Linked DNA regions of Homo sapiens: region 2 is linked to region 1. The links are contacts of gene promoters, found by promoter capture Hi-C in human tissues and cell types (Jung and others, 2019). All regions are on one chromosome and are shown on one strand. The core of a region is centred on a gene start or on the middle of the fragment in contact, and the rest is flanking DNA. Distances in the headings are between cores, read along the strand shown. Region 1 holds the start of SLC30A2 (solute carrier family 30 member 2). Region 2 overlaps PAFAH2 (platelet activating factor acetylhydrolase 2).

Evidence for each region. Contacts are between HindIII fragments. The study calls those that stand out against the background at their distance.
Region 2: a fragment that was not itself captured here is called in contact with the fragment with the promoter of SLC30A2 in region 1 in 2 of the 25 tissues and cell types used here (IMR-90 fibroblasts and spleen).

What each region holds. Positions count from the first base shown.
Region 1 is chr1:26,044,807-26,047,555 of GRCh38, forward strand. SLC30A2 (solute carrier family 30 member 2) reads right to left here and starts at 1,312. Exons shown (of 8, transcript NM_001004434.3): 1 at 1,041-1,312; 2 at 191-411. The coding sequence starts at 1,090. RefSeq lists an enhancer at 343-911. The HindIII fragment of the contact is 12,838 bases long and covers 1-2,749 here.
Region 2 is chr1:25,970,001-25,972,879 of GRCh38, forward strand. PAFAH2 (platelet activating factor acetylhydrolase 2) reads right to left here. Exons shown (of 11, transcript NM_000437.4): 10 at 2,558-2,712. Among named protein-coding and RNA genes, the nearest start is that of PAFAH2, 27 kb to the right of the region's middle. The HindIII fragment of the contact is 4,625 bases long and covers 1-2,879 here.

The DNA.
Region 1 (2,749 bases), core at 62-2,561:
TCTGTAAAGTAAGGAGAATAACGTCACCCATGTGAGAACACAGGTTGTTGTTAGACCTGCATCAGATAATGTGTATATAAAGGCTTACTGTAGTGTGTGTTCAGTAATTGGGGCTTTTAGTGTCAGTATTGCTGGGAACATCCAGTCTATCCATGCACCAACTTCATTTAATTAGCCCAAAAGTGCTTACCAACGACTTCTCCGATCATGAACAACAGGCAGATGGCAGAGGCTACATACAGCTGGCGCTGGGCCTTCCCCTTCTTGGGGTCACAGTGACTGTCAGGACCCTTCTGAGCATGGCAGTGATGGTTGCTCTGGGCAGCCAGCTCAATGGCCTGCAAGTCCAGGCCAGGTCGGGGCAGAGGAATCCAGCCAGCCCCTTCCTGCCACAGAGATCCCGTGTATGACCTGGCCAGAGGGGAAGAGAGGGAACGCTCAGCTCTGAGATGAGGTAAGGAGGGCCGACTCTAGTCCCATTTCTCTGTGAGGCCTTGTGTCCACTGGGAAAAATAGCTAAGGACGCTCCGAGCTCGACAAACCAGAGGTGAGAAGCCTGTATTCAGACGGGGATGATAGGGGAATGGGAGTCCTGGGGCCCGGGGCCCTTCAGAGGCCAGAGGAGGTGAAGACCCTGGGAACCGGCCAAGGGGCGTGCTGTCCAGTGGAGCGCGGGGAAGGAACAGAGCGCAGGCTCTGGGAGAACAGCAGGCCCCCTCCAGCGCACTTGGGACACAGGGCCTCCCCGGGGCGGGGCTGCCTGGGGCAAAGTGCTGGGCGGGGCGGGACTCCAGGCATGGGAACCGCCAATCCCCCGGCCCCAGGCCCCCCGCGGGCAGGGGTCAGAATCTGGGCTGCGCCCCAAGGGAGAGACGGTCCTTGGGCCACAGCCCATTATCTTCGTTCCCTCACCTCACCCCACCCCTCCTGCATGGTCCCAGCTCAAGCCGCAGCCAAAACCAACCACTGCTAGGATGGCAAATGCGGAGGTGCGTCGGCTGCCGCCAAAATTCCCGCCCGTCCCCAGGCTCTCGCCTTACCGGATTGCCGGCCTGGCGTCCAACAGATGCTGCTTCTCCTTGGCCTCCATGCAGTCCCGCGCCGAGTCCCGGCAGCCGCGCAGCCGCCCCGCCGAGTGCGCCCTGAAAGTTGCGCGCGGGACTCCGGGTGGCGCTCACCCACCTGCCCCGAGGGCCCCGCGAGGTGCGCTCACTCCGGCCCGGCTCCTGCGGCCCCTGAGCTCCCCCGGCTCCCGCTGCGGCTGCAGCTCCGGCTCTGGCTCCGCGTGCCAAGCGCTCCCGTGTCTCGGGTCAGCCGCTGCGCCCCGCGGCCGCCGGCTTTATCCGGCCCTCGCCAACCCGTGTGAAGCTGCCGTCGGCGCGTCGTGTGCAAAAGCCCGCGGGGAAGGGGGGGCGGTCGCCGGCTGCAAAAGGCCCGGCTGTGGCCCCGCACACCTGTGCCTGCGCCCATGGGGCCCGCGGAGCCCACCTGCCGGCCGCGAGAAGTTTGCCAGCCTTCGCCCGGCGCGGCGCCGGGTGTTGCTGAGTGAGGACGGGGTGACGCCTGCGCCCCCTCTCCCGCGCGGGGTGCGCCGCCTCGCCGCCGAAAAGTTCTCGACTTTAGTTTGTAGAAATCCGCTTTGGTGGTCCCGACGGCAGGAATGTGGCTCCTTGCCTCGGAAGAGGGTCTCCAGAGGCTACTGGGGCCGCGTCTGCCCCCTCCGACTGGCGGCTGCCCTGGGCTTGATCATGTTCCCCTCTCAGGCCGGAGACCCCCCGAGGTCGGCTTGCGTTCCTGTCCTCCTGCTAGGAGGGTCCTGGGGTGGGGTGGGCTGCGCCGCCCTCAGGCTGGGGCAGTGTCTCTCCCTAGGACCGGCTGGGACTGATCGACCCATCCTCGCCACTGAAGCAGCGCCAGCTCCTCCTCTCCTGCGCGCAGGAGAATCTGGAGTGGCCGGCTTTGTCTCCACCCGCACAGAGAACAGTGTCATCGGCAGTCACCATCGGAGCAGAGACGACCACTGCCACTGCTGCCACCCCTTCTCCCCTCCCCCGCAGCGGCTCCTGGGAGCCCCAGGAAGCCTGACAAGCAAGCCTGGGAGATGCAGGCCGGAGGTGCCACCGTGTTGGTACCGCTGGGAGAAGCCCTGTCCTTCCTGGCCAGCTTGGTGCCCCACCCACTTGAAGCAGCCTCCTTCCCTGGCGGTTCTTGGGGATTGGGGAGCCTGTGGCCCCCACGCTGGCCTCTGACAGGTGCCCTCTGTGTAGAAAGAAGCTGCTGGAGACCTCCCTGTCTGGTCAATTCGTCTCCCCAGCACCCTTTGTCGCTAGGACCATAGGCTTGGTGGGTATGGCCTTTCACAGAGCCAAGAGTCAGAGGTGCAGGCCTCTTGCCCACACCACTGGGGACAGGAAGGGGCTCTTTCAGTCTCTCATCTTGTAGGAGACGGGGTGCCAGGAGTGAGGATGTGAGGTGCACCCGCTCTGCTTGGGTCCTCACTGAGTGCCTCTCTGCTTCTCTGGACTCTGGTTTTCTTCTGGAAAACCTCAGACACCCTGGTTTTCTCCAGGTCTGTCTACTCTGAGCACCAGCAGGCTCAGCATTACCTGGAGAAGGTGTTACAACGCAGGTTACAGGTCCCTGCATCAGACCAACCGAACCAGAATCTCTGGGTGTGGAGCCTGAATATTTCCAGGATTCAGTAGGTCTGGGGCAGGGCCTGGGAATCTGTATTTATAAAATTCTCTGG
Region 2 (2,879 bases), core at 313-2,812, 75 kb before region 1:
GTGTAAGATGAAACGAACAGGCAGAAATATAAAAATGAAAATTTACTTCCAAAAAGTCAATAAATGCGTAAGACAGATGTGTTTTAAATGCAAACTCAATCCAGGCTGTTTGTTGTGCACTTGTGAGGAATGTGAATGCACTCAGGTCATCCAACTAAAAGGCTAGTGTCCAGAGCACAGAGACGGCCAGGCGCGATGGCTCACACCTGTAATCCCAGCACTTTGGGAGGCCGAGGCAGGTGGATCACTGGAGGTTAGGAGTTCGAGACCAGCCAGGCCAACATGGTGAAACCCTGTCTCTACTAAAAATACAAAAAGTAGCTGGGTGTGGTGGCACATGCCTGTAGTCCCAGCTACTTGGGAGGCTGTGGCAGGAGAACTGCCGGAGAATCGCTTGAACCCAGGAGGTTGAGGTTGCAGTGAGCTGAGATCACACCACTGCACTCCAGCCTGAGAGACAGAGTGAGACTCCGTCTCAAACAAAACAAAACAAAACAAAAAACAGAGCACAGAAGAGACTGTCCAGGATGGCACCGGTCAGACCACATCTAATACATTATAGTCAAGTCAGGGCACCACAGTTTATCTATTTATTTTATTTTTTGGAGACGGTATCACTCTGTTGCCCAGGCTGGAGTGCAATGGCATGATCTTGGCTCACTGCAGTCTTGACCTCCCAGGCTCAAGTGATCCTTCCACCCCAGCCTCCCGAGTAGCTGGGACTATAGGCACATGCCACCATACCTGGCTAATTTTATTTATTTTTTTGCTGAGATGGGGTCTCACTATGTTGCACAGGCTGGTCTCAAACCCGTGGCCTCAAGCAATCCTCCCATCTCAGCCTCCCAAAGTAGCTGGGATTACAGATGTTGAGCTACCACACCCGGCCAGGGCACTACACTTTAGAAGGGGCACCAAAAAACAGCGACTCCAAAGGAAGGGGATAACAAATAGCAACATGGGGAATTGAACCGGGACAGGTGGAGGTACCACGAACATTTAGTTTAATAAACAGAACACTCAGAGAAGACTAGCATAGGTGACTTCAAATATCTAGGGAACTGCCAGGTGCCGTCTGAGGCTTCTATGGGTAGCTCTTGAGGGGTTAACCTGGGCAAGTAGAGGAGGGTTACAAACTAGGAGATCTTGCTCTTAGGTTAGAGTTAAGTCAAACCTTTGAAATTCAGACAAGCCTGGCTCCTTTCTCATGGAAACTGCCCTGCACACAGCACCTGCTGAGGGATCAGAAAGGGACCTCTGATGCAGAGAGCTCAGAGCCTAGCTGGGACGGGGCTACAGTGTGTTCTGGTGGGCAAAGAGGAGCTGATACAATCAAATTGCCTCTCTTGGAAATCTGTTCAAAGAAATCCAAAAAAATATGGCAGTGAGCAGTGGGAGCTGAAGATGAAAGGATGCCGCAAGCTAAAGGGAACACACTCTGAGTGGTTCAAGCCGAGTGAAGTTATGAGGAAGCAGAAATGGAATAAACAGCTGCTATCAGTGAGAGAAAAACCACAGAGCAGAAAAAAAAATGCATAACGGAACAAAGAAAAAGAGATGTCGTGAGAGGAAGACACAGAGAGACTGAACCCATGAGACAGACGGAAAGAAAAGTCAGTCCTGCCAGCCACCCTGATTTCTATAACTGCACTCCCACCCAGTCCAGGTGCACTCTCATAAACAAACTCCCCTTTTTTTCTCAAGCTAAGTTTGTGAACCTCTAGTCTTTGTAACCAATAAAGCTTAATAAGAGGATGCCTCCTCTGGGTGGAAGCTGGACCATGGACCTCTGCAGGCCTCGCCCTTTAGCTGCTCTATGACTGATGACATTATTCATAGTCCTTCCATGCTTTGTTTCTTTAAAACACTTCCATAAATTTAGCCCGTTATCCTCATAAACTCCCCTACAATGCAGATAAGGTGGGCAATAATGAGTCTGGGTAAGGAGAGAGGTGGTGGAGTAGAGAGAGGTGAATACTCCATTTACAGGGAGGAAACCAAGGTTCAGAGAGGTTAAATGACTAGGCCAGGTCATTCTGCAAGTAAGATAGTCAGGATCTCCAAACTTTCAGTTAAGTATTTTTTCTTATTTATTTGTTTAATTATTTATTTAGAAACAAGGTCTTGCTCTGTTGCTCAGACTGGAGTTCAGTGGTGCAATCATGGCTCACTGCAGCCTAGACCTCCTAGGCTTAACTGATCCTCCCACCGTAGCCTCTCGAGTAGCTGGGACTATAGGTGTGTGCCACCACACCCAGCTAATTTTTTTTTTTTTTTGGTAAAGATAGAGTCTCACTATGTTGCTCAGACTGGTCTCGAACTCCTGGCCCCAAGCCATCCTCCCACCTCAACCCACCAAAGTGCTAGGATTACAGGCGTGAGCCACTGCACCTGGACTTGTTTTTTCTGTAATTCTATGTAAGTCTCTCCTTCACTCAGGTTTTCCATTTGCCATAAATCTCCTTCCCAGATCCCAGACATGTCAGAGTTCTCACTCTGCTGCAAGGAAATCTAAGGGACCCCACAGCTGCCCCAAGAGCCCCAGTTTTCTCCTTACCGAGGTGCTTCTGCAGGAAGGCCAACATGGCCCGTACCATAACCTCCTGCCCTTCATAGGGGTCCAGGCTCCCACGGGTTTCAGTGGAGAAGAATTTACCAATCAAGTTGCCAGTCACAAAAGCAAAGTCAGTTTGACTCCGATGAACAGAACCACTAGGGGAAAAGAAAAACAACTGGCAGGGGTCTGGCGGCTAGGGCATACAGATGTGTGTTAGGCACCTACTATGTGCAAGGTGCTTTTCATGTATTATCACACTTTATTTTCACAGCAACCTTGTAAGGGAAGTATTTTCCCCCTTGACAGAATCCAAGGAGAGAAA